Regions from separate parts of the Homo sapiens genome. Here regions 1, 2, 4, 5, 6 and 7 are each linked to region 3. Evidence: promoter capture Hi-C in 16 types of primary human blood cells and fetal thymus (Javierre and others, 2016). All regions are on one chromosome and are shown on one strand. The core of a region is centred on a gene start or on the middle of the fragment in contact, and the rest is flanking DNA. Distances in the headings are between cores, read along the strand shown.

The links. The method cuts DNA at HindIII sites, captures the fragments that hold promoters and counts their contacts. A CHiCAGO score of 5 or more calls a contact.
Region 1: a fragment that was not itself captured here is called in contact with the fragment with the promoter of SMC6 in region 3 in 5 of 17 cell types (neutrophils, activated CD4 T cells, total CD4 T cells and 2 more); the score reaches 7.6 in neutrophils.
Region 2: the fragment with the promoter of NBAS here is called in contact with the fragment with the promoter of SMC6 in region 3 in 4 of 17 cell types (naive CD8 T cells, monocytes, M2 macrophages and 1 more); the score reaches 11.2 in naive CD8 T cells.
Region 4: a contact is called between a fragment that was not itself captured here and the fragment with the promoter of SMC6 in region 3, in 6 of 17 cell types (naive CD8 T cells, total CD8 T cells, activated CD4 T cells and 3 more). The highest score is 10.3, in naive CD8 T cells.
Region 5: a fragment that was not itself captured here is called in contact with the fragment with the promoter of SMC6 in region 3 in 2 of 17 cell types (neutrophils and activated CD4 T cells); the score reaches 8.1 in neutrophils.
Region 6: a fragment that was not itself captured here is called in contact with the fragment with the promoter of SMC6 in region 3 in 2 of 17 cell types (neutrophils and total CD8 T cells); the score reaches 12.3 in neutrophils.
Region 7: a fragment that was not itself captured here is called in contact with the fragment with the promoter of SMC6 in region 3 in 5 of 17 cell types (total B cells, naive CD8 T cells, non-activated CD4 T cells and 2 more); the score reaches 14.6 in total B cells.

Annotation. Positions count from the first base shown.
Region 1 is chr2:19,972,338-19,975,576 of GRCh38, forward strand. WDR35 (WD repeat domain 35) reads right to left here. Exons shown (of 27, transcript NM_020779.4): 6 at 3,193-3,239; 7 at 2,131-2,296; 8 at 1,226-1,371. Among named protein-coding and RNA genes, the nearest start is that of WDR35, 16 kb to the right of the region's middle. The HindIII fragment of the contact is 1,882 bases long and covers 540-2,421 here.
Region 2 is chr2:15,560,001-15,563,086 of GRCh38, forward strand. NBAS (NBAS subunit of NRZ tethering complex) reads right to left here and starts at 1,334. Exons shown (of 52, transcript NM_015909.4): 1 at 1,188-1,334. The coding sequence starts at 1,304. LOC105373440 (a long non-coding RNA gene) reads left to right here and starts at 2,148. Exons shown (of 4, transcript XR_001739297.2): 1 at 2,148-2,183. RefSeq lists an enhancer at 1,124-1,533. The HindIII fragment of the contact is 4,253 bases long and covers 1-1,360 here.
Region 3 is chr2:17,752,386-17,755,849 of GRCh38, forward strand. It overlaps SMC6 (structural maintenance of chromosomes 6), which reads right to left and starts at 1,425. Exons shown (of 28, transcript NM_001142286.2): 1 at 1,241-1,425; 2 at 593-679. GEN1 (GEN1 Holliday junction 5' flap endonuclease) reads left to right here and starts at 1,753. Exons shown (of 14, transcript NM_001130009.3): 1 at 1,753-1,960. RefSeq lists silencers at 901-1,260, 1,401-1,540. The HindIII fragment of the contact is 9,742 bases long and covers 1-3,035 here.
Region 4 is chr2:19,912,768-19,915,767 of GRCh38, forward strand. WDR35 (WD repeat domain 35) reads right to left here. Exons shown (of 27, transcript NM_020779.4): 26 at 1,270-1,510; 27 at 1-941. The coding sequence ends at 791. Among named protein-coding and RNA genes, the nearest start is that of TTC32, 12 kb to the left of the region's middle. The HindIII fragment of the contact is 181 bases long and covers 1,223-1,403 here.
Region 5 is chr2:20,003,027-20,006,385 of GRCh38, forward strand. It overlaps MATN3 (matrilin 3), which reads right to left. Exons shown (of 8, transcript NM_002381.5): 2 at 2,718-3,284; 3 at 135-260. It overlaps WDR35-DT (WDR35 divergent transcript), which reads left to right. Exons shown (of 3, transcript NR_110235.1): 3 at 994-1,780. Among named protein-coding and RNA genes, the nearest start is that of MATN3, 8.0 kb to the right of the region's middle. The HindIII fragment of the contact is 4,251 bases long and covers 1-3,359 here.
Region 6 is chr2:20,045,030-20,048,423 of GRCh38, forward strand. The region is part of intron 1 of LAPTM4A (lysosomal protein transmembrane 4 alpha); the gene reads right to left. Among named protein-coding and RNA genes, the nearest start is that of LAPTM4A, 4.9 kb to the right of the region's middle. The HindIII fragment of the contact is 1,471 bases long and covers 603-2,073 here.
Region 7 is chr2:15,585,512-15,588,601 of GRCh38, forward strand. LOC124905975 (a long non-coding RNA gene) reads right to left here. Exons shown (of 2, transcript XR_007086224.1): 2 at 2,758-3,090. Among named protein-coding and RNA genes, the nearest start is that of DDX1, 4.8 kb to the right of the region's middle. The HindIII fragment of the contact is 6,453 bases long and covers 1-3,090 here.

The DNA.
Region 1 (3,239 bases), core at 231-2,730, 2.2 Mb after region 3:
CACATTGTTTTGCAAGACAAACAAACAGACTTTAGAACCCATGTTTTTCTACCTGGGGAAGGCTGAACTAACAAAAATAAGCAGATAAAACATTATGATAAATAAGTAAATGGCAACCAACAAAAATAACCAATAAAGAACAAGAATTAAGAAGGAGGCTATAAATATAGAAATAATTAGAATGCAGATTTTTAATTATTTAGGAACCTTGAAAACTATGCTTTTTTTTTTCCTTCACTTTTACATCTACGAGAAATATTGTCGTTTGACAATGTATAGAGAGCATCTACGTTCTACAGTATATTCTACTGGGTAACTTTGAGATACTGATTCAAAAGCATCAGAAGACATCATTTCTTGCCCTAAAAGAAATTATTAAAATATATAAAAATAACATTAAAACAACTGGTATAGGCTTTTATGCAGCCAAAAATATATATCACTGTAGTCTATGGCGAATTTATAAAAGCCAACAGGGTATTCAAAAGGGACAAAATATAGTACTGGGTTAGAAAATAAGACATTCAAAAAACGTATTAAGCTTAGTTATTAATAAGCTCTCACTTTCTAAATTCTTTAAAATTCACAATATATTAATTCTCCTACTTGACATTTTCCAATGCTACTTCTGAAAATTCTTTTAAAATTAAATTTATTAAAAATACTATTGAGAAGGATAATACTCATATGTACATTTATGAAAACAATGCTTTTATTTTAATGTAGCATCACCTAAGATTAATTATTAAATTTTCTTCAAATAACTGATTACTTTGCAACAAATTAAAAGTATTAGAAGTTTGAAGGAAGGACAGACAGATATGTATGTTTAACATCTAAACACATTTAAAATATCACATTAAAAATCAGAAAAATTAATCTGAAACAACTATATTATACTAAATACTACTCAAAAGCTGGCTATGAAAAGAGACACATATTCAGATCACAGAGAAAATATTCAAAATAACTACTCCATGGTGATTTCTTATGTTAAACTTCTGGTTTTCTGAATGTATAAAATTGTAATTTTTATTTTATAATTATAAAACTATAAGATTATAAAATTCCATGATAAAATACAACAAAGATTTATACTATGAAGATGAAATGTCCCTAAAAGAAAATGTGATAAGTTTACACCGTTTCCTTTGTTATTTTTTCCTCTACCTTACTCACTGCACATTTAAATAGAAAGAAAGAAGATCAATTTGAATGCATTTACCTCACCAAACGGAGTGTAAAACTGCACAATGTTCACATCTTTGTCCTGCATGGCTGCCTTCTGGAAGCCTGCCACAGCTAACACGCTGCCCATGTGGTTCCACTGGATGCCTACTACGTACATGCCAGTGTCAATCAAAACGGGATCTAGTCAGAAAGAGAAAAATGAGGTCACTGTGGGAAAATACGTAGCCTAGAGAACTTTATAATCTTAAGAACAACTTTTAAACATTTTTAAAACTTTCCACATTTTTAAAAAAACAGGGCTGGGTACAACGGCTCACGCCTATAATCCCAACACTTTAGGAGGCTGAGGCGGGCGGATCACTTGAGTCCAGGAGTTCAAGATCGGCCTGGGCAACATGGTGAAACCCTGTCTCTACGAAAAATACAAAAATTAGCTGGAGGAGTTGGTGCACACCTGTGGTCCCAGCTCCTCAGGAGGCTGAGACCTTGAGCCTGGGAGGCCAAGGCTGCAGTGAGCCAAGAACGCACCACTGCACTCCAGCCTCGGCAACAGAGCAAGACCCTGTCGCAAAAAAAAAAAAGTTAAAAATTAGAAATTGAGGCCGGGCACAGTGGCTCACGCCTGTAATCCCAGCACTTTGGGAGGCTGAGGCAGGTGGATCACGAGGTCAGGAGATAGAGACTATCCTGGCTAACAGGGTGAAACCCCGTCTCTACGAAAAATATAAAAAATTAGCCAGGCATAGTGGCACGCCCTGTAGTCCCAGCTACTCGGGAGGCTGAGGCAGGAAATTCGCTTGAACCCGGGAGGCAGAAGTTGCCGTGAGCCAAGATCGTGCCACTGCACTCCAGCCTGGGCGACAGAGTGAGACTCCATCTCAAAAAGAAAAAAAAAAAAATAGAAATTAAAAAAATTTTTTAAACAGAAAAATTCCTTACTTTGGTCATTCTCATGTCTCATTATTTGGCATCTTCCATTATCAAAGCAAACAGCAAGGCAAGGGCAATCAGGCTCCACGTAGCCTTCTGTGCCATGGTACCAATGAATTCCAGCAATGCTGATAGCTCCAGTGACATTCACCAAACAACTCAGTTTCATTTTTATCTAAATAAAATTGGTTAGGTTTAATATTTTACATTTTAAAACACAGCAGTATAGAGACAATACTCAATAGAGTATTGTAGAAAGAACACTGAAAAATACAGTCTAAAAATCAGGTGGCAAATTAAAGCTTAATCACTTACTGGTATACAGGCCATGGACAAATCACCTAAATGTCCATTTTCCCCACATGTAAAAAATGAGGATTAAAAAACACTGAGTTTTTATGAGACTCAAACAACAAGTATATAAAAGTACTTTGAAAACAGCAAAATGACATAAAAGTTCATTATTTTACTTCCACCAGTGAGTGGATTTACTTAATGTCCTAACCCTTGCTAAAAAACAAAACTGCCCCACCAGTAATCATACATCTATGATAGCTAAACCTTGCAAAGCCAGAATTTTTCTCCAGATTATGCTGCCTGATCCTATTCTATTTTACCTTCTTTCCAGGGATTGATTTTTCTCACTTACCATTTAAGTCTGTCATTCTTTTTACAAACAACCATTGGTAGCTTGCTACAAAAATACCCTGTGGTATCTACATGTAAACTTTGGCTTCAGACACCAGAAGACACCTATAAAACTTAAACTGCACATCGCCCTACTCATTATCTCTCTGCTTAAATGCACTGACACCTCGTCCTTTCTACCTACCAAAAAAAATTGGAACTAAAAGCTACACTCGAACTTGTTGCACTAATTTGCCTTGAGAAAACCAAAATTTTATTTAATTAAAACAAAATTTAGACGATTGGGAAAAAGAAAAAAAATCTGAATTGAAGACTTTAATTACACAAACCGCCATAAAAAATAAATGTATATACAAACATGAATGATATGTACGATAATCATATAAAATTGTATAAACAAGACTGATGCATACACTTACTTACCATAAAATTTCCTTGATTATCGTAAATGTGTATTTCCCCATTTGCCA
Region 2 (3,086 bases), core at 84-2,583, 2.2 Mb before region 3:
TGATAAGCACAAACTGCAGTGGGAAGGAGGCTACAGAGGAAAAAAATACAAACTTTGGGCTGAAAAATGAGTCGTTTCTCCAGCAAAGAAACACTCAGAAAAAATGTAAGATAACTCACATGGGCTGGACTACATAATCTTTAATAAAGGTTCTTTTCGATCTGGCTGCTTCCTCTGGGTCTAAAACAGTAACTGGCACGTGTTAAGCACTCAATAAATATCTGTTAAATAAACATGGATCCAAAAAATAATAATAATAAAAAATAAAATAAAATAAACATGGATCCATGGTTCCTACTCTTCATCACAGACCCGGGAGGCCTTCACTACCAAACAACTGATAATCCCAAGATCCAGTCCATAAATTATCAACCTCTATAACCCTTCTGTAGCGGAGATCCCAATCCCAGTCAGCAGCTCTTTACTCTGCACTTCCGTGGCATTTTGCTCACATCGCTAACTATAGCGCATAAAACGCTAGGTTATGAAAAACGTTTACGGGACTGTCTCCCCTCTAGACGAGAAGCTCCACGAAAACATATTCATCTCTGTATCCTTAGCACCTAGCACAGCACCTGTGACACCGAGACAGACGAACGGACACGCACACCCTTATTAAATGCTCTTTTATTGAAACACACAAGACCTGGCGCGATCCAGCCCCCAGTATGGGTAAAGGCTCAGATTCTGCGCTCTGCACCAGCCTGGCAGATGCTGCAGACTGTAAGGTCCTGGAAAATTCTCCCATCGCAGTTGAGCGTCGGCCCAGACTAGCCCTAGCCAGACCGCGAGAAGGGACCACTGAGGGTCCAGATAGGAGAAAGGACCCTCGAGTCCAGCGCTGTGCCTTCCCCTCCTAATACAGAGAGCGACACTAACAATCCCCTCTCCTCCCAATACAGAGAGCGAAACTGAGAACCAAAGTGGGATCGTACGCTCCCCAGAGCACGAAGTTCCAGCCCCCAACAACCGAATTCTGAGCCCAGGAAGAATCTCAGGGACCACCACCCCACCCCGCCCTAGACCCCCGCTAGCCCAAGGTGCCGTTGCCAAGGCGACCGCACAAGCCAACCGGCCCTAGTCCCCCACCCACCCGTCTCCACTCCCCTACGTGGCTCCTGCTACGTGGCTCTACCCACGAAGCGCCCGCGCCAAGCTGGCTGCTGCTGTAGATGGGCCTGGTTCACCTGTACTTCAGTCTCCGGTGGCCACTCGGTGTTGACCAACAAGTCATAGAGAATCGTCTCCTCCTCACCCTCTGCAGTGCCTGGACTCAAAGCCGGCCCTGACTCGGGGGCCGCCATGTTCGCCGAGGACTCAGGCAGCGGAGGAGTGTCTCTACGGAATCCCTCACAGGACAAGCTTCTCTATCCGCGGCCGCTTTTGTTTCACGGCAAGGAAATGCTAGGTTAACCCTTTTATGAGTAGGAAGGACAGGGACTATTGCTTGTCTTGGGAACGACTTGTGTCCCGGTCCTGATACACTCCTTGTTCATTAATCTACATGAGATCGGCCAAGTCATTGAGCCTCTCTTATAACTCAGTTTCCATAAAACAGAAATGGTAAAGGTACCCCACTGAAATGCTAATGTTCATTTGTATATTCTTTGCCTAACACGTAGAGAGAGTTCAAACAGTGGTTTTAAAATAAACAACTAAAGTTATCCAATGAAAGGTAGCAGAGGAAGGATGCTACAGGAGCTCAGAAAAGGCAACGAAGGCCAGAGTCTGCAGGGATTTCCTGGAGGACGTGGAGCTTGTCCCTGCGTCTTTAACAATAGGCAGAATTTTAATCTACTGGAGAAGCATTTCAAGTAGCGGGAAATGGAATGAGCAGAGACAGAGGCAGAAATACAGAGTTGAAAGAACTCTTTCAACGTGTCGCCAGTGAGTGACGACTTTCTCAGTGTGGGAGTAAAAGAATTTACCAAGACAGTGGTAGATAAAGAAAGACAGATTAAAGAAAGTATGAAAGTTCGTTGCCAGGGAGCAGCGGGCCGACTCAGCAGAGGAGGAGCTCATTGCTAGGAAACAAAGGCTTGTTGAGAATTTTATAGACTGGAACTTGGAGTGATTGATAACACCAGGTAGCAGGGAGTTAACTTGCTTTTTTTTTTTCTTTCTTTCTTTTTTTTTTTTTTTTTTTGTCAGCTGAAGTGTTTCAGAAATTGAGGCATTTGAAGGTAAGCAGGAAGTTTGTGAGTTAAGTACGTTATCTGGGTAGAAGGGCCATATGTCCTGGGCCATAAAGAAAAGTAGACCTATGGCTTATTTGTTTCTTCCTTTTGTTTATATGTTTTGGACCATGAAGAAAGACAGACGTATAGCTAATTTGCCTTATCTCTTTGTTTTTCCCTGCTCCCACTAGCCTGCCTTTTTTTTTTTCCTAATTAGTACTCAACAAGACGGGTGAATAGAACCCAAGTTGAGAAAGGGTGTAGGGGCAATAAAGTTGAAATAATAGGTTGAGAACCCGCATGGAGGGAGCGAAAAGGTCAACCCCATTTGTTCATTCATTCATTCATTCAACAAATACCTCTTTGTGGACAGTTATAAGCAGAGCCTACTGTAACATGAATGAATATATACTGTACAAAGTATTACACTGTTTCACATCAAAAGAAACACAAATACTGAATATCCCTTGAGATAATTATATTCATGATATCCATCAAGATGCATTAGGCGGTGATGCAATTAAAAGCCTCTGCTGGGAAGCCTCTAACCAGCTCCCATTTCTCTCAAAGTTTAATGACCTCAAAGCCCTACGTCATCTGCCTGCTCCCCTAAATCTCACACCTCATTTCCTGCTCCCCCTACTACCTTCAGCCACACTGGCTCTATTTCTGAACACACCAGACACACATCAACTTCAGGAGTTCTGCAAAGCCTGTCCCCTCCACTTGGAAGGCTTTCTACCAGATGTTTACCTGGTTCCTCCCTTATCTCCTTCAAGTTTTTGCTCAAATGTCGTCTCTCTCTGAAGCCTACCTTGACTGCTCATTTTTAAATTTGCAATGACCATTCTCCAACTCCAGCTTTCCAGAGCTGCTCTATTATTTTTTCCATTACACTTGTCATCACTT
Region 3 (3,464 bases), core at 175-2,674:
TTTTTTCCTCTGAAATATTTTCAGTCCCTTGATTGAGTCCACGGATACAGAGGATGCACTGATAACTGTATTATTTCTTCCAACTTGCATAAGAAGAACTGAAACTTAAAGAGGTGGTACCAACCTGCTCAGAGTCACACAATTCTGGCTTTTTGTGATATAAATACACGCTTTTAGGCAATATACTAGTGGCCTCCAAACGTTTTGTACTTGCACCCATTAAGCAAAAGAAATTTGAAATACATGTTCCAACATAAAATTAATACCCTATGTTTCACGTAGAAATCAAATGAAATAAATCTAAATAGAAGTTCTAATATGTTCCCTCTCTACCCACACACCCATGGAACAAACTGCATGCCACTGTATATACTATTGTACATGTTAAAAGATCACACTGCAACCATATAAAAGTCAGGAGATTTGGGTTTTTCTTTTTTCCTTTGAATATATATTACTGAGAAGTTTGCCTTTAAAACACTGGCTTTTAATCTACTACTCGTGACATATGCAGAGTAATAAGCGCTCACAAAACTTCTGTCTTGAGGGCTCAAACACCAAATGATTGCTCTAAGAATTTTCACAGTATTACCTCAAACCCTATTGGTTCTACAACCTTTCTCTACCCTAGAGTCCTGTTTTCCGCAATTCCCAATTGGGATTCTTCTCCGGTTCATTTCTGTAAGAAATGAGGGCAGAGAAATGCCATCAGTAAACCTTTGAACACATGTTAATTTTTCTAGGTAATACAATTTGCATTTTCGTAAAACTGGGCTTTAATGACAAATCCGATTTCAGTGATCTTTGCATACACCCTTTAAACACACCAGTTGCCGCCTGCGAGATATCATCAGACTCATGCTAAGAGCCACTCCCTACCCCAGCTTTCCCCAGACCTCTCCCCGCTTTACAGTTATTCGCCACAGCCCGGGAGAGTCTGGGGACGGCCGCCTGGGAGGGGACGGCCGCCTGGGAGGGGACGGCCCGGAGCAGACGCCAGGTTTCCCGCGGCTCAGGAGACCGGTGCCGCCTCGGAGAGCGCGCGAAGGTGCCGCCGGCCGCCCGACCCGCCCGAGGAACGGACATCTCCCGCCCGGGCCCGCAAGGACGACCATGAACACCGCCGCAGCTCAGCTGACCCTGCCTCTCCCGGGTGGCTGGGGGTCGCCAGCCAAGGGGGCAGCGGGCGGAGGATGAACCCCGGAGCAAGGGAAAGCGACAGCGCGCGCCTTCACCCTACCGCCAACAAGTCGAAGTCTCCCAAAGGAACCTGATCGGCGGGGCTGCCGTGGTACGACCGGCCGCTAAGGCCACCCTGCGGGCGTCTCGACCTCGGCTGACCGCCGCTGGCCCCCTGGGAACCGCGTGCCGGCCGCAGGAGAAGGTAGATTCCCGGGAGCCCCGGCGCCCACCGCGGTACTAACCGCGCCTGCGCCCCGCCCTCCCTCCCTTCGGGCTCCGCCCGCGCCTGCGCAGTTGCGGGGTTTCGCGCCGCCGGAGTCTGAGAGGCCGGAAGTGCCCCTTAGCGGGTGGGGGAAGCTGGTAGGCACGGGCGGCTCCGCAGTGACCGGACTCGGGGGAGGTGAGTGATTTGCCTAAGTAAAAGGGAAAGATAATTGAGCGCCCCCGGCAGCTGGTCTACGCATGCGTCCGCTAGGCCGGCTGGGAGCCGGCAAGGGAAAGCCGAGCGGGCCCCATTGGGGGAAAGGGGTCAGTCACTTCCCGGAAGAGGCGGGGCCGCGCGGGCCCGGCGCTGGATTCGAAACGCTTCCTGGTGCTCCTGGGCCTGGCGGTTGAGCCCGGGGAGCTAGTCTTTGCTTGGGTAAAGAAAGAGGACTTTCCTTTTTTTTTTTCCTTTTGAGAAAATTCAGAAATTTGGAGGCACAGTAGTTAGGATTCAGGCCAAACTGGTAAATGACGAAGGGGCTTCTTCCAGAGCCAAGGAGGAAGGGTTGTCCGGGTAAGTCCCGCGGGACGTGGAGAGACGGCGCCGCCCGGGTCCTCCCACTGATTCCTTTGACCATCTGGCTTACGGACGAGCTCTTTGTTCGCTGCTCCTCCGAAAACGCCTTCAATGACTCCCTTTGAATAAAGTAGGAAGTCCGAACCGAGCCGCCAGGCCGCGACTTGGCCCCTGTTTTCCACTCGCGAGGGCCCTGCGTCACCCCGCCTCGGGAAAGCTGCGCGTTCTCCGGCCGCTTGCGCTTGGCCGAAGCTGCTGGGTCCCGCTGTGCTTCCCCCGGGCATGCGATGGGGATAATTCCCACGCCTCGCTCAAAGCCATCCCGGGAGAGCCCTCCCTGGTCCCCATAGGCACAGTTGGGTGTTCCCTTTTCCGTGTTAACCTTGTATTTCGGATATAGTTCTGTTATAGTAATTACTTTAAGGTATTGTAGTTATTTACAATCAGTCTTTCCCCCACGGTAACCTAGAGTGTAAACCCCCTAAATAAACGTCAGAAGTAATGAAGTCTTAACTTCCTTGGCTTAGGTTTCAGCGCCCTTCTCAACCCCACACTCCCGCTTCAGTCTTTACACAACCCTTCCCATGAATATGCTGACCTAACAAGTAACCTACTTTTCATACTCCAAAATCTTCTCTTCTGTGTGGGGAAAATAATGCATTGACTGCCACCTCACTCCACCTCCAAATAAATTGATGTTGAAATTCTGGCCTCCGGTAATGGAATTCTTTACATCAAAGTCACTTTTTATTTCTAAAAGTAATCACATATATATTATATTCCTACTGTGGCCCTTGCCATGGATCAACGAAAAATATGACATAGTCAAAATAGACCAAAACATCTGGCCTTGTTGTAACCAATGGGAAACACGGTTGGGAGGTCCCTACTTACATGTCACTTGCTTCAGGAACCGTTCCTTGATTCCTAAGTGGGGGACCTTTTTTCCTAAATACAACTATAGCTTGCTTTCTTACCTCTTAAGCCCTTTTTATCTGCAGTCTCACTTACCCTACTAAGGTCTTTAAATGCAGGGCTTGATCTTCCATTATTGTATCTCCAGCACCTATAAAGCTTTCCTGTTAAATAGTAGACATTTAATAAGTATTTATTGATAAACGTGAAGTATGCCTCAACGTTTAGGCTAAATTCATATGAAAATAAAATTGAAAAAATAATTTTAAAGAACAGCATTAGTTACTGAGATTATGTGGTAAATCCCTTAAAATATAATCTTGCATTGAAATAGTTTTCACCATTTACCAGTCTTTATATGAATATATACTCATCTAAATGGAAATTGGGAAATTTAAGCATTTTCTGCTTTTCCGAAGTAAATTTTCTAATGTTTTTCTTAAAGCTGAACTAAATTGCAAAACTTGCTTTAATAAAGTGTGTATTTTTGCATCAGTTAAGCCCCTGACCTCTTTATGTTCTTTAAATTTGATTCATTAGTGAAATTAACAAGGTTCTGTGTTTTTCTCACCTCATTCAGTTTTAT
Region 4 (3,000 bases), core at 63-2,562, 2.2 Mb after region 3:
TCAAGAAAAAATCACTCCCTCAACAATACTTGTGTAAATAAACGGTCCAACTTAGTGACAATGTTTCAACAGAAGCTATAACTACAAAATGGATATTTCTGTTTAAGTTATCTTCATTATAAATAGAGGCAAGTTTTCTGCACAATCATATGAAAGTGTAAATTCCAAATGCCATCTCTTAAATGAGACTAAAAGGACAGGTTTTAAAATAGAAGAATAGGGCTATTAGAAACAATTCAGATTGTAAAAAATGTCTTAAAATGCCATCGCCTCACTTCTGAAAATACAATAAAGAAGACATTCGACACTTATTTAATTAAATATGGCTATAGAGAAAGCTCATTTCATTATTACAATTGTTTAACTTCCTTGTAACATGGGTTATAAAAATTCTCTAAATTCAACTTTGCCCCACTCCCATGCTTCCCCCACTCCCTACTCCCTTCAAGATTTTTTAATGAATTCAGTTACCTTGACACTGTGAGAAAAAAATTTATTTGGAATATTTCCATGGTATCATGTAACCAAAAACAAGATAAACAAAAGAGAGAGGGTGAGAGAAAACATGGTTGATTTTCATACATTTATATGAAAATCGGCCTTATTATTTCACAGTTGTATTGCCATAAAAATTATTTTATTAACATATATTTTGTGCAAAAATTCAACTATAAATAATGAGGCTGATTTTCATACAAAACTCACAGAAATAAACCTTATTACATATACAGCATATAGCCATGTATATATGCTACATATATTTTACAGTTATATACAGTTTATCATTCCTTTATCCCACTGGACTATGGCATAAGGGGCAGAAGCTGTAGTGGCTTATTTCCTGAGCAAGGACACCGTGTTTGCATACACTGCACATCCAGAATTGATACTCAGTGATTGGGCTTCCTGTGGCAACGCATGTTGGCAGTTTCCCTTCTCCACTGTAAAACGGGGAGAAACAATTCATTATACTTTAAAACTTCTCATTAGTCTAACTTTATTTAATACACTTAAAAAAAACCTAAAGAATAAAACTTCTGAGATGAACATCAAATACTTTCATTTAAAAAAGTTATTTCAAGAAAAAACCTTTCTTACAATGACAAAATAAAGCATGAATACACTTGTAAAAATAAATAAAATAGGGTATAATGTTAATGTGAATTGCTTCAAAATTCAGTGCTTTAATTCCTACATTAAACATTGTACATCTAGAAATCCAAGCTTCTAATAAGATAGAATGGCATCCACTAATTAAAATTAGCCTACCCTTCCATAAGGCTGTCCAATTCAGGTTTTCTGTTATCTTTTGAAGTATGTTTGGTGAAGATTTCTAAAGCAAGGTCTTCATACTGCTGTTTCTGTTCTGAACTGAGGGTCTCTAAAGATTTAAGTTTAATGAAAGCTTTTGAACAAGTCCCAAAGGCTCTGCTGGCGCATGCGCAGAGTGCTAGCAGAGAGTAGATCTCCACAGGAGGGATGATGTCTTCATAGTCTTTCAGGTGAAGAGCTAAGAAAAACAGGGCAATTGGGGTTTTTTAAAATAATTATTATGATATCATGAACATGCAAAAGAAGAATCTAAGTTAAGGTGATTTCATTGAACTTGCATGAACGAACTGAAAGCAAACAGTGTTGAGAGATGGGAGCACCAAGAGGAGGAACTAGGCTACATGATATCCAAGGTTCTGTGAAGCTGGCTAACAGCTCATCCTATGAAAAGAACCACCACCAAATGCTGCACATGGCTGTGCCAGCTCAGAAATACACACACACACACAAAATTTTGGTGTCAAAACATCCACATTTTCTTCAATTTATGTTAGAAATTTCTGTGGCACTTCATAAAAAGCAAATGAGTATTATACTATGTTAGTCATAAACTGCAAGATAATACCATGTTTCCTTTTGTTAAAAAAAAAGCAAAACAATATAAGCAAAACAGTATAAAATAATATGTTCTTTTCTCTGTGTTTCTTTGGACAGATTATTGCTTTTGTATTACTGCTTTTGTCATTTGTCTCACTGAAACAATAGGATTTTGTGAAAAAGTGAAAATGAGTCTCCAAGTTGTCAGTTGAGACAATTCAAGTTACAACATCTTATTTGCAATTATACTGGAGATGAAAAAATCTTTCTTTAAAATGCACTGTATTCTTGGGCCTGTTGGGGGTGGGGGGCTAGGGGAGGGATAGCATTAGGAGAAATACCTAATGTAGATGACGGTTGATGGGTGCAGCAAACCACCATGGCACATGTATACCTATGTAACAAGCCTGCACGTTCTGTACATGTACCCCAGAACTTAAAGTATAATAAAAAAAGCAGACTTAATATTAGATTTAATATTAAGATTTAATATTAGATTTATAACCAATTTGTATCTTTTTCTTCTCTAGACCTTGGAATCTTAAAAATACTTTGTTATAGTATATCAAAAACTTCATAAAACCAGTTTAAACAATATATTCATGTGTTTTACAATCAGAATCCTATAAACTGGTTCTGGGGTCAAGTATTTACAACAAAGTGTAGTAGAAAAAATGTATATAAAATGTAATCACTCAGTTACAATAAACAATATCCTCTAATTTCATATCCAAAGCATGATAGGTTCAAGGGTAATAATTTACAGGTCATACATTGTTTCAGATCGTCTTACCACTGACAAAAAAAAAAAAAATGAGGCATATAGAGATCTTCACCTAGTAGGTGAAGCATCTCAAGTTAAAGATCTAATTGTTCTTTTAAGTCTAGAAATGGTGTATAAATTGAATATGATACAGCTATTTTAAACAGTGTATAATTTATGTCACATATTAGTTAAAACTAAATGAAGGTCAGTTATAAAATAAACATAAAAATAATTTTTATATATAACTAATAACCAATTAGAAAAAAAATTTACAACCTCATTAATGACAACAAAACTAGGAATAAACTGAAAAATAAACCTTTAGAGCCAGCAAGAAGAAAACTACAAATCTTTAGAAACACAGA
Region 5 (3,359 bases), core at 189-2,688, 2.3 Mb after region 3:
TGAACACCAGTAAACCAGCCAAAAGGCAGTTAGGTAAAAAGGGGTCAGAGAGTCAAAGCACAAGGCCAGTCCAAAACCTGGAGCATAGGTTCCCAAGTATTTGATTCAGTCACGGCCCCCTACACAGGCCTCACCTGAACACGTTTTCTTGTCGGCATTCAAGGTGTATCCTTGGCTACACTCACAGTGGTGCTTGCCTTCCCCATCACTGATGCAGACGTGCTGGCACTGGTGTGTTCCAAGCACACAGGGGTCCAGCGCTGTGAGAGGAAGTTTACAACAGTCAGCACTGACACTTAGGAAACATCTCAGATACCGTCTCCCATGTCAATAGACATTGCTCTCTGGGCTCCTTTCCGAGTCCATCTTTACTTCACTATAAAAAAATGGTTATTTGTTTTCTGCCTCTGGCTTATTAGCAATGCTACTCTTAAACTAGAAATTGTTGCTAATTTAAAAGTACACATCTTGCTATATAGACTTTCTCAAGGGAGAAAGGGAATTTGGAGTTTGGAGCTGAAGCCAAACACTTACATAGGCCAGGCAATTGGATGTTTTATTTGGCTTATCCGCCTCCCCATGAAAAAAAGATTTGTGCTTCCCCACCACAAGAAATGGGAGAACAATAAATGCACAGCCTGAAGTGACGTGAGCTAGTTGTCCCATTGTAGCCAGAATCTGATTTCCAAGGTTCTATAGCCTATGTCTAAACAGAATTCTCACACAAGTCTGGGTCTAAGCCTAGAACGAACTCACAGGTGGGCAGTGGTACATATTTGAACATGCAAATGGTAGAGGACAGTTCGGGTAACTGTCTTCTGAATATGTAAGGTGGGTGAAGTCATCCATACGCTAAATCCATAGTGAACTCATATGCTAATACAAACAGGTAAAAAGAAAAGAACAAAATAAATGAGATTACATTAGCTAAACTACATCTCCATCTTATTGCTCCTGGAGCCATTTATATCTCATTGGATATTTTTTTCCTAGTGACCTCTTTTGAAAGATGAATCAATGAATTAAGTCATTTCTGAGAAACCAAGGAGGCCTGTTGAAGGAGGCTGGCCCTCCTGTGGCAGGTAACCCAACCTCCACTGCCCTTGGCAACAGGACAAGGCTAATATTTTCCCAAGAAGGGCCTTTTCATGGAATGATCTTTCCAACCCGTTGACTACAACAAGCTGCCGCTCAGTCTTTTTTCCATAGAGAGGACGTTTTTCCCCCAGAACAAGCAGGTCTTTTGTACCAGAAGGAAAAGATTGCCACTCACCACTTGTTACTTTATAGCCTTCGAAGCCCAACCCCAGGTGCTAGCTTTGAAACCCAACTTTGCCACAGACCAGCATGTTGATGGAGAGGCTCTCACCCACAAGCATGGAGTGGGAGGGTGATTTCCTGGGAGAAAGAAAGCCACTTTCTTTTTGGAAGCCAACGAATGCCAAGTAGATGCCACCAAAGCCAGTGATGGCTTGTGAAAGCCCAGTGTCCTGGGACAGGAAAGACAAGGGGATCCCAGCCAAGTCTGACTGCAATGAGGCCAAACGTTGCCCCAGAGCAAGACTTCATCTCCCTTTTCCTGACAAACCATTGATGGCTGCGTTTCACATTAACCTAGATTAAAAGTCTCCTTGAAATGTATAATTGTAATTAATTATTGGTTCATTTGTTTGTCTCACCCCCACCCCCAGAATGTTACTTAATGGTATGGAGGGATTACCTTTATCTTTGTATCATCAGAGATCAATAAATGCATGCTGAATAAATAAGTGTGAAATAAATTATATTGCAAAAAGATATCTATGTTTAAAAATTCACCTGAACTAGAAATTTGTCCACAACTGCTTGGATATTCACATAGAGGGAACAAAAGATTATCTCCAGATGATAAAAAAATAAAGCATGAGTCCCACAGATCATAATTCTGATCAGTGACTAAAATTAAACTCCAGCATTGAATGGATCTGTAGTCCTAGATTTGGTCAATTCATGCTAAAAATTCCAATAAAATTAGCATGTCCTTATTCAAATTCCATCCTAAAGGATGGAAGGAGTAGCAGAGTTAACAGAATGATTTCTTAAGATCATCTTGCTTTCTTTCAAGTGAGCTGAAACCCTAATCTGCCTGGTCCCTGAATCCTGTTCTTCAACAAAGAGTAATCAGATAAACAGCCCAGTCTGAAAACCAGAGCATTCACTAAATGCACACTCGGGCTGACGGTGACATTGGAATAGAGGCCTGCTGACTCTCCCAAGGACAGACGCTTCTCCCTGTCTTCTGCAGGAGAACAAACAGAGTTCTGTTAGATCTAGAGATGGTAAAACTAAAAAAATATGTATCAGGGGAAAAAAATGTAGTGGTGGGGCAGAGGGGACAGGAGAGGCATCTTGAGTTTTGTTTTTCCTGACCCTGACAGGGAACAGCAGGGTCATTTATCCTGGATATTTGCAGACCTTCACAGTTCTAACGCAAACATGAAGATTTTATGAGCAAACCAAGTTCCATATAATGCAGCTCTATATTCCTAAACCAATAGAGTGTGTTTAGGTTGGTCGCACACACGCGCGCATGCACACGTGCACACACACACACGCATTGGATATATTTAAGTTTTTCATTAAATTTCCACCAAAAAAGAATAATACTCTTTTCTCTGGGTACACAATGTCTGAATATAACATCCTTTCTAGTTGGAAGCAAAGACTGACCAACTTACCACAGAAGGTTTCCTGGAATCTAGAGGAAAGTTTCTCAATGACCCCATAGGTCTCCACGTAGAAAACATGCTCCTCTAGGGGCTCACTGGCCATCATCTTGAGGGACGCCATGTCTGCCCGGTCCACGCCCACAGCATAGAGCTCAATACCAGATGCTTGGGCCCGAGCCGCCACCTCATTCACCTGGTCCTGGGGCCTCCCATCTGTAACAATGATGGCCACCTTAGGGATGTTAGAAGAGGGCTCTCGAGCCCCTGCCTCCACTGTGAAGGCTTCGTCCATTGCTGTCTGGATGGCTAGGCCTGACATGGTGCCTGTTGACAAGGGTGTGATTCGACCCACGGCCTGCTTCAGGGACTGCTTATCTGTGTAGGCCTGGAGTTGGAACTCGATCTTCACAGTGCTAGCATAGTTCACCACTGCCACCCGCGTGTCGGCTGGCCCAATGTCCAGAGTGTCGATTATCCGGGAGACAAAAGTTTTCACTTTGGTGAATTCCAGGGGCCGTACGCTACGAGAACTATCAATGATAAACACCAGGTCCAAGGGTCTGCTCTTGCAAACACCTGCAAAAGACCAAGCAATGATCAGACCACAATTAGAAATGCAGTAATCCTCACTTCCAGAGAACTCTGGGATTC
Region 6 (3,394 bases), core at 88-2,587, 2.3 Mb after region 3:
CACCGCTCCTGGCATCCTTTGATCTTAAAGATATTCACCAACGAACGCCTACCTTGTGCTCACATGTAAGCCCTGGCAACTTATCTCTGATTAAAGTTGATATTTCTAAATTACATGTTTAGCTTTTCAAAAAATACATAAAATTAACTGTAATCTTACAATACAAAATTTCTCTGAAAATATCCAACTATGTACTAACTATTACAAATATTTATTCCTGATTCACTTTTTCCTTTCACTGTATTCAGGAAAGAAAGTTAATAAAAATGTAATTTAAAAAGAATGATTAAGCTGGGGACAGTGGTGTGTGCCTGTAGTCCCAGCTGGTCAGGTGCCTGAGGTGGGAGGATTGTTTGAGCCCAGTTCAAGGCTGCAGTGTGCTATAATCATGCCATTGCACACCAGCACAGGCAACATAGCAAGACCCCATCTCTTTAAAAAAAAAAAAAAAAGATTAAATTATTAACTTCTAAACTTGGCAATATGGAGAGGTATAGAATGCAGCAATATTTTAGCAGCATGGGCTGCGGATTCACCACTCAATGTGTTAACAGTACTGTAAATTTAATCAGTCAAATCAGGTGGTGTGCATTGTTTTTGAAAGCTTCTACATCTTATGTAAGTGTGTACAATAAGAAATCTGTTAGATTTGACTTGTTACAAAATAACTGTATCAGATCCATGGAAGCACAGGGCCTGAAGAGAGGAATTCTTTGTTTTCTTCTTTCACTGCCACACCTATTCCAGAAGATTCTCTGGAGACTTTAAAAAAAAAATCATTTTTCAGTTTTCCCACAGTAATTTGCCCAGAGCCAGTATCTACTGAGATAATAATTAAAACAGTGTGTCTGGTTTAAGGAGGCATCCAGATAAGGGCTTCCCATGCAGAGAAAGCACCCACAGGAGGGTCAATCTACAGAACTAAGCAAAGCCTGTTATCTGATAAAGATCAAAATTGACTATCTTTAAAACGTTTTTTAGCCATAAAAAAGGATTAGTTCATGTCCTTTGCAGGGACATGGATGAAGCTGGAAACCATCATTCTCAGCAAACTATTACAAGGACAGAAAACCAAACACCGCATGTTCTCACTCATAGGTGGGAACTGAACAATGAGAACACTTGGACACAGGGTGGGGAACATCACACACCTACACCAGGGCCTGTCAGCGGGTGGCGGGCTGGGGGAGGGATAGCATTAGGAGAAATAACTAATGTAAATGATGAGTTGATGGGTGCAGCAAACCAACATGGCACATGTATACCTATGCAACAAACCTGCACGCTGTGGACATGTACCCTAGAACTTACAGTATAATTTAAAAAAAAAAAGTTTTTTGTTGTTGTTTACTGTTACATGCAGATACAACTGAGTATTCACAATATTTTTTGGAGGAGACATTCATTCAACAAATGTGTAATGAACACCTCAAATGTTTTAATTAATAAGTTAGCCATCACACACATTTTATTTTGAGACAGGGTCTCATTCTGTCACCCAGGATGGAGAGTAGTTACTGCGATCTAGGCTCACTGCAACCTCTGCCTCCCCGGCTCAAGTGATCCTCCCACTTCAGCCTCCCCTGTAGCTGGGACTACAGGCATGCACCACCACACCATGCCCCGCTAATATATATATGTATGTATGTGTGTGTGTATATATATTTTTATATGTTTTATATATATTTATATATTATATATCTATATATAAATATATATTATATAAATATATATATAATATAATATATAAATATATATATAATATAATATATATTTTTTTTTGGTAGAGAGGGGGTTTCGTCATGTTGCTCAGGCTGGTCTCGAACTCCTGGGCAATCCACCTGCCTTGGCCTCCCAAAATGCTGGGATTACAGGCGTGAGCCACTGCCCTTATAAAGACATCACCCTCTTCCCTCCAGGAGAACATCTTGCTGTAGAGAGAAAAATAAGAGAAAAGGACAATCCTACCAATGTGTACTGAGTACTATTTAATAAGTACATACAAGAAGGATCCAGAAACTTTTGCAGGTGCACCGTGAGAAAAACAGATCCCCCTGGCTAGGAAGTAAAGAAAGCTTGGCTGGGCATGGTAGCTCACGCCTGTAATCCCAGCACTTTGGGAGGCCAAGGCAGGCAGATCATGAGGTCAGGAGATCGAGACAATCCCGGCCAACACGGTGAAACCCCGTCTCTACTAAAATACAAAAAATTAGCCCGACATGGTGGCGGGTGCCTGTAGTCCCAGCTATTTGGGAGGCTGGGGCAGAGGAATCGCTTGAACCTGGGAGGCGGAGGTTGCAGTGAGCCGAGATCGCACCACTGCACTCCAGCCTGGTGACAGAGCAAGACTCTGTCTCAAAAAAGAAAAAAAAAAAAAAAGGCCGGGCGCGGTGGCTCACGCCTGTAATCCCAGCACTTTGGGAGGCCGAGGCGGGTGGATCATGAGGTCAGGAGATCGAGACCATCCTGGCTAACAAGGTGAAACCCCGTCTCTACTAAAAATACAAAAAATTAGCCGGGCGCGGTGGCGGGCGCCTGTAGTCCCAGCTACTCGGGAGGCTGAGGCAGGAGAATGGCGTGAACCCGGGAAGCGGAGCTTGCAGTGAGCCGAGATTGCGCCACTGCGGTCCGCAGTCCGGCCTGGGCGACAGAGCGAGACTCCGTCTCAAAAAAAAAAAAAAAGGAAAGTTTTACCACGAAAACATGTGAGCTAACCATTAAATTATCTGGACTTGGCAAAATGTTGTTAATGGTTGAAGCTGGGTGATGAATAAATGGGAGGTTTTCGTACTACTTCACTACTTTTGTATGTATGAAAATTTCCTTAATAAAATTTTTAGAAAGTGACTTGGGAGGACAGCAACATTTCAGGGAGAAGGAATAGCATATGCAAAGGCAGAGGCACAAAACTTCCTTAGTTTAAGGAAGGAAACTAACAAATATAAACAAGCTATGCTTACTTGAAGTCAGAGGTGAGGGCTAGAAAGGAATAGAGCTTAAGGAAACCTGTTTTTACTTCTCTCCCAGATACAGAACTTCAAACTGTTTATGGTTGAGACACTCATGAAAAATTAGCCATATATTAAGTCTAAGAGATAAAATTATTACAAATGCTCAAAATGTAGTCTTGTAGTGCACACCATTAATCACAAAGTATATCTACTACAGCACACTTTTAAGTCCATTTTCAATTATTCAATAAACATTTGAGTTTATACCTCATAAGAAACTTGTTTAAAATCAACTGGCTTCAAATTCTTCAATAAATGATAGAGAAAACCATTTCAGGAATGCCAGAATTTAAACATGAGCTCATTCTGAAATTTCCTGTTACTTAACCAGGTATGCTTCTTTTCTAGCTAAAATACGAAAGGCTCACACTTCAGGGCTGGTA
Region 7 (3,090 bases), core at 508-3,007, 2.2 Mb before region 3:
AGTGGCAGGTAATAAGGCTGGAAGTAAGCAGGAGGCTGGACATGGAGGACCATCCTATGGAGGGTGGATTCAGGAGCCTTACCAACTAAGAGCTGTGTTGAAGGGGAGAGAGTTTGTTAATGGAAAGACTGACCATAGCAAGATTCAAGATCCAGTGCAAGTACTCCTGAGTCGTTTTTTCCCTCCTAACAGGTAGATCTGGGGCAACCTACACGGACAGCATTTATGGAGGGGGAAGGTTACTGTTACTTGTGTGAAATGATGGGTAGGTTTGTATTCTATATTGTGAGGAAGGACTTTGTGAGGGAGGGGGTTTATGGATGACGATATTGTATTTTCTACTCAACTTCTTTTAGATTAAAACAAATTCTCTCTCTAGCTGCTTCCTCCTTCTTGGTGGTGAGATCCTCAGAAACTAAGCAGCTGGCTTTATCTTGTTCCAGAAGGACCTGGGAATAGGAACTGAGGAGGAGGGTGGATGTCAATGAAAGGACAAACTAAACAACCTAATTTGACTTGTGTTCCCTAGGCTGGGTTCAGAGTCACATCCTCTACTGTATATGTCACATTTCACCTTCATTTTCATTGTGAGGAAATGGCCATATATTCAGGGATAATTTTGGATGTTTCCCTCACAACTCAGGCCAAATGTCTCCTCCGCCTTTTAGCCAGAATAGCTTGATTATTGCTGTATTATGAAACATTCAAAAAATGTTCCTGAAAGATACATTACACAATATCCATAATGATGTGTGTTTTATTTCCTTTCTTTTCTGTACCTCTTAGCAAAGTGTTGGGCTGCAGAAAAAAGAAATTTTAAAGTGGCTTAACTGGGACATTCTCAAGCTGCAAGAGAGGTCTAGAGGTAGACAGACCTGGGCTTACCATCATTAAGGATCCAGCCTTTTATTTCTGCTTCAGTAGTCTTAGTGTGCGGCTTTTATCTTCGGGACTCATTGCTGACTTTCCAGGCATCATATCAATGTTCCAAAGGAAAAACGGTGCATGCCAGACAGATCTTTCCCTTTTGAAAAGCATTCCTGGAAGTCCCAACCTGGCACTGCCAGTTATATCTCTCCAGGCAGAGCTGAGTCTCTGGGCTGTCTCTCTACAAAGGAATCTGGAAAGGTGATTGTTTTCTTCTTCTTCCAAGTTTCCATTTTTTTTTTCTTTTTGAGAAGAGTGTGGCTGTGTCACCCAGACTAGAGTGCAGTGGTGTGATCACGGCTCACTGCATCCTCGACCTCTTGGGCTCAAAAATGATCCTTCATCATGACATCAGGAGATCAAGACCATCCTGGCTAACACGGTGAAATCCCGTCTCTACTAAAAATACAAAAAAATTAGCCCGGCATGGTGGCGGACGCCTGTAGTCCCAGCTACTCAGGAGGCTGAGGCAGGAGAATGGCGTGAACCCAGGAGGCGGAGCTTGCAGTGAGCCGAGATCACGCTGCTGTACTCTACTGTACTCTAGCCTGGATGACAGAGTGAGACTCCATCTCAAAAAAAAAAAAAAGATCCTCCCCCGGCCAGCTTCCCAAATAGGTGGACTGCAGGTGCGTGCCACCATGCTTGGTTAATTTTTTAAAGTTTTGTTAGAGAAAGGGACTCTATGTTGCCCAGGATGGTCTCAAACTCTTGGGCTTAAGTCATACTCCCACCTTGGCCTCCGAAAGTGGTGGAATTAAAGGCATAAGCCACTACGTCCAGCCTTTTTCAGATTTCTATAATAAAGAAAGGCAATGGGAAAGGGGACTACTATTGTTTGAATGTTCCCTCCAAACTTCACATTGCCAATGTAATTTTAAGAGGGGGGCCTTTAAGAGGTGATTGGCCCATGAAGGTTCTGCTCTCATGAATGGGATTGAAGCCCTTGTAAAAGAAGTTTCATGGAGCATTTGGTCTCTTGCCCTTGTACCTCCTGCCATGTAAGGACATAGAGCTCCTCCCTGCTGGAGGACATGGTGTTCAAGGCACCACCTTAAAAGCAGAAACCAAACCCTCACCAGACTATAAACTTACTGGCACCTTAATCTTGGACTTCCCAACCTCCAGAACTGGCAGAAATAATTTCTGTTCCTTATAAATTAGCCATTCTCAGGTATTTTGCTATAGCAGCACAAATGAGCTAACCTAGGAACTGTGTATGGCTTTTGGGTGGTCCATCTACAGAGGCCTTCCCAGGACCCATCCTCTCTACACTTTCCCAGATACCTGAAGGCATTTTTTTTCAGGTCTGCCTTAGTAGTTGCAAAACCATTTGCTCTACAGTGGGATATAATTATAATATAGCTTACTTGAAAATACATAGCATAATATCTTGGGCCCATGGATAACATAGTAAAACTTCCCTATCACATGATTAGTGGGGCCCAAACTACCCAATTACAGAAAATGTGGGGTTATTCTGAGGTTAAAAAAAAAATACTGGGGGCAAGCCCAGGCTGAGGGGTGTGTGTGTGTGTGTTTGAGACAGAGTCTTGCTCTGTCGCCTAGGCTGGAGTGCAGTGGCATGATCTCGGCTCACTTCAACCTCCGCCTCCTGGGTTCAAGTGATTCTCCTGCCTCAGCCTCCCAAGTAGCTGGGATTACAGGCGCCCGCCACCAAGCACGGCTAATTTTTTGTATTTTTAGTAGAGACAGGGTTTCACCATGTTGGCCAGGCTGGTCTTGAACTCCTGACCTCAGGTAATCCACCCACCTCGGTCTCCCAAAGTGCTGGGATTACAGGCATGAGACACCACGCTCAGCCATATGTGTTTTTTAATTATAATTTTTTAAACAGCTTTATTAAGGTATAATTTAAATACCATAAAATTCACTAATGTACAATTCAATGATTCACAGAGCTGTGCAACCAGCACCACAATCCAGTTGTTGAAGACTTCCATCACCCGCCTTAAATGTCGCACGTCCATTTGTATAAATGGAGACAGATGAACAAAAGCCTACGCTGGGAGTTTTTAGGGTCCAGTCCAATCTCTTCTCAGTTTGGCTACAGTTTGGTGCCACCTGGTGGTGTCTGTCCTGGTTTCTGGGACCAGGCCAGGGTTTCTAGGAATCTCCCAGTTAGTAGGCAACCATTAAATC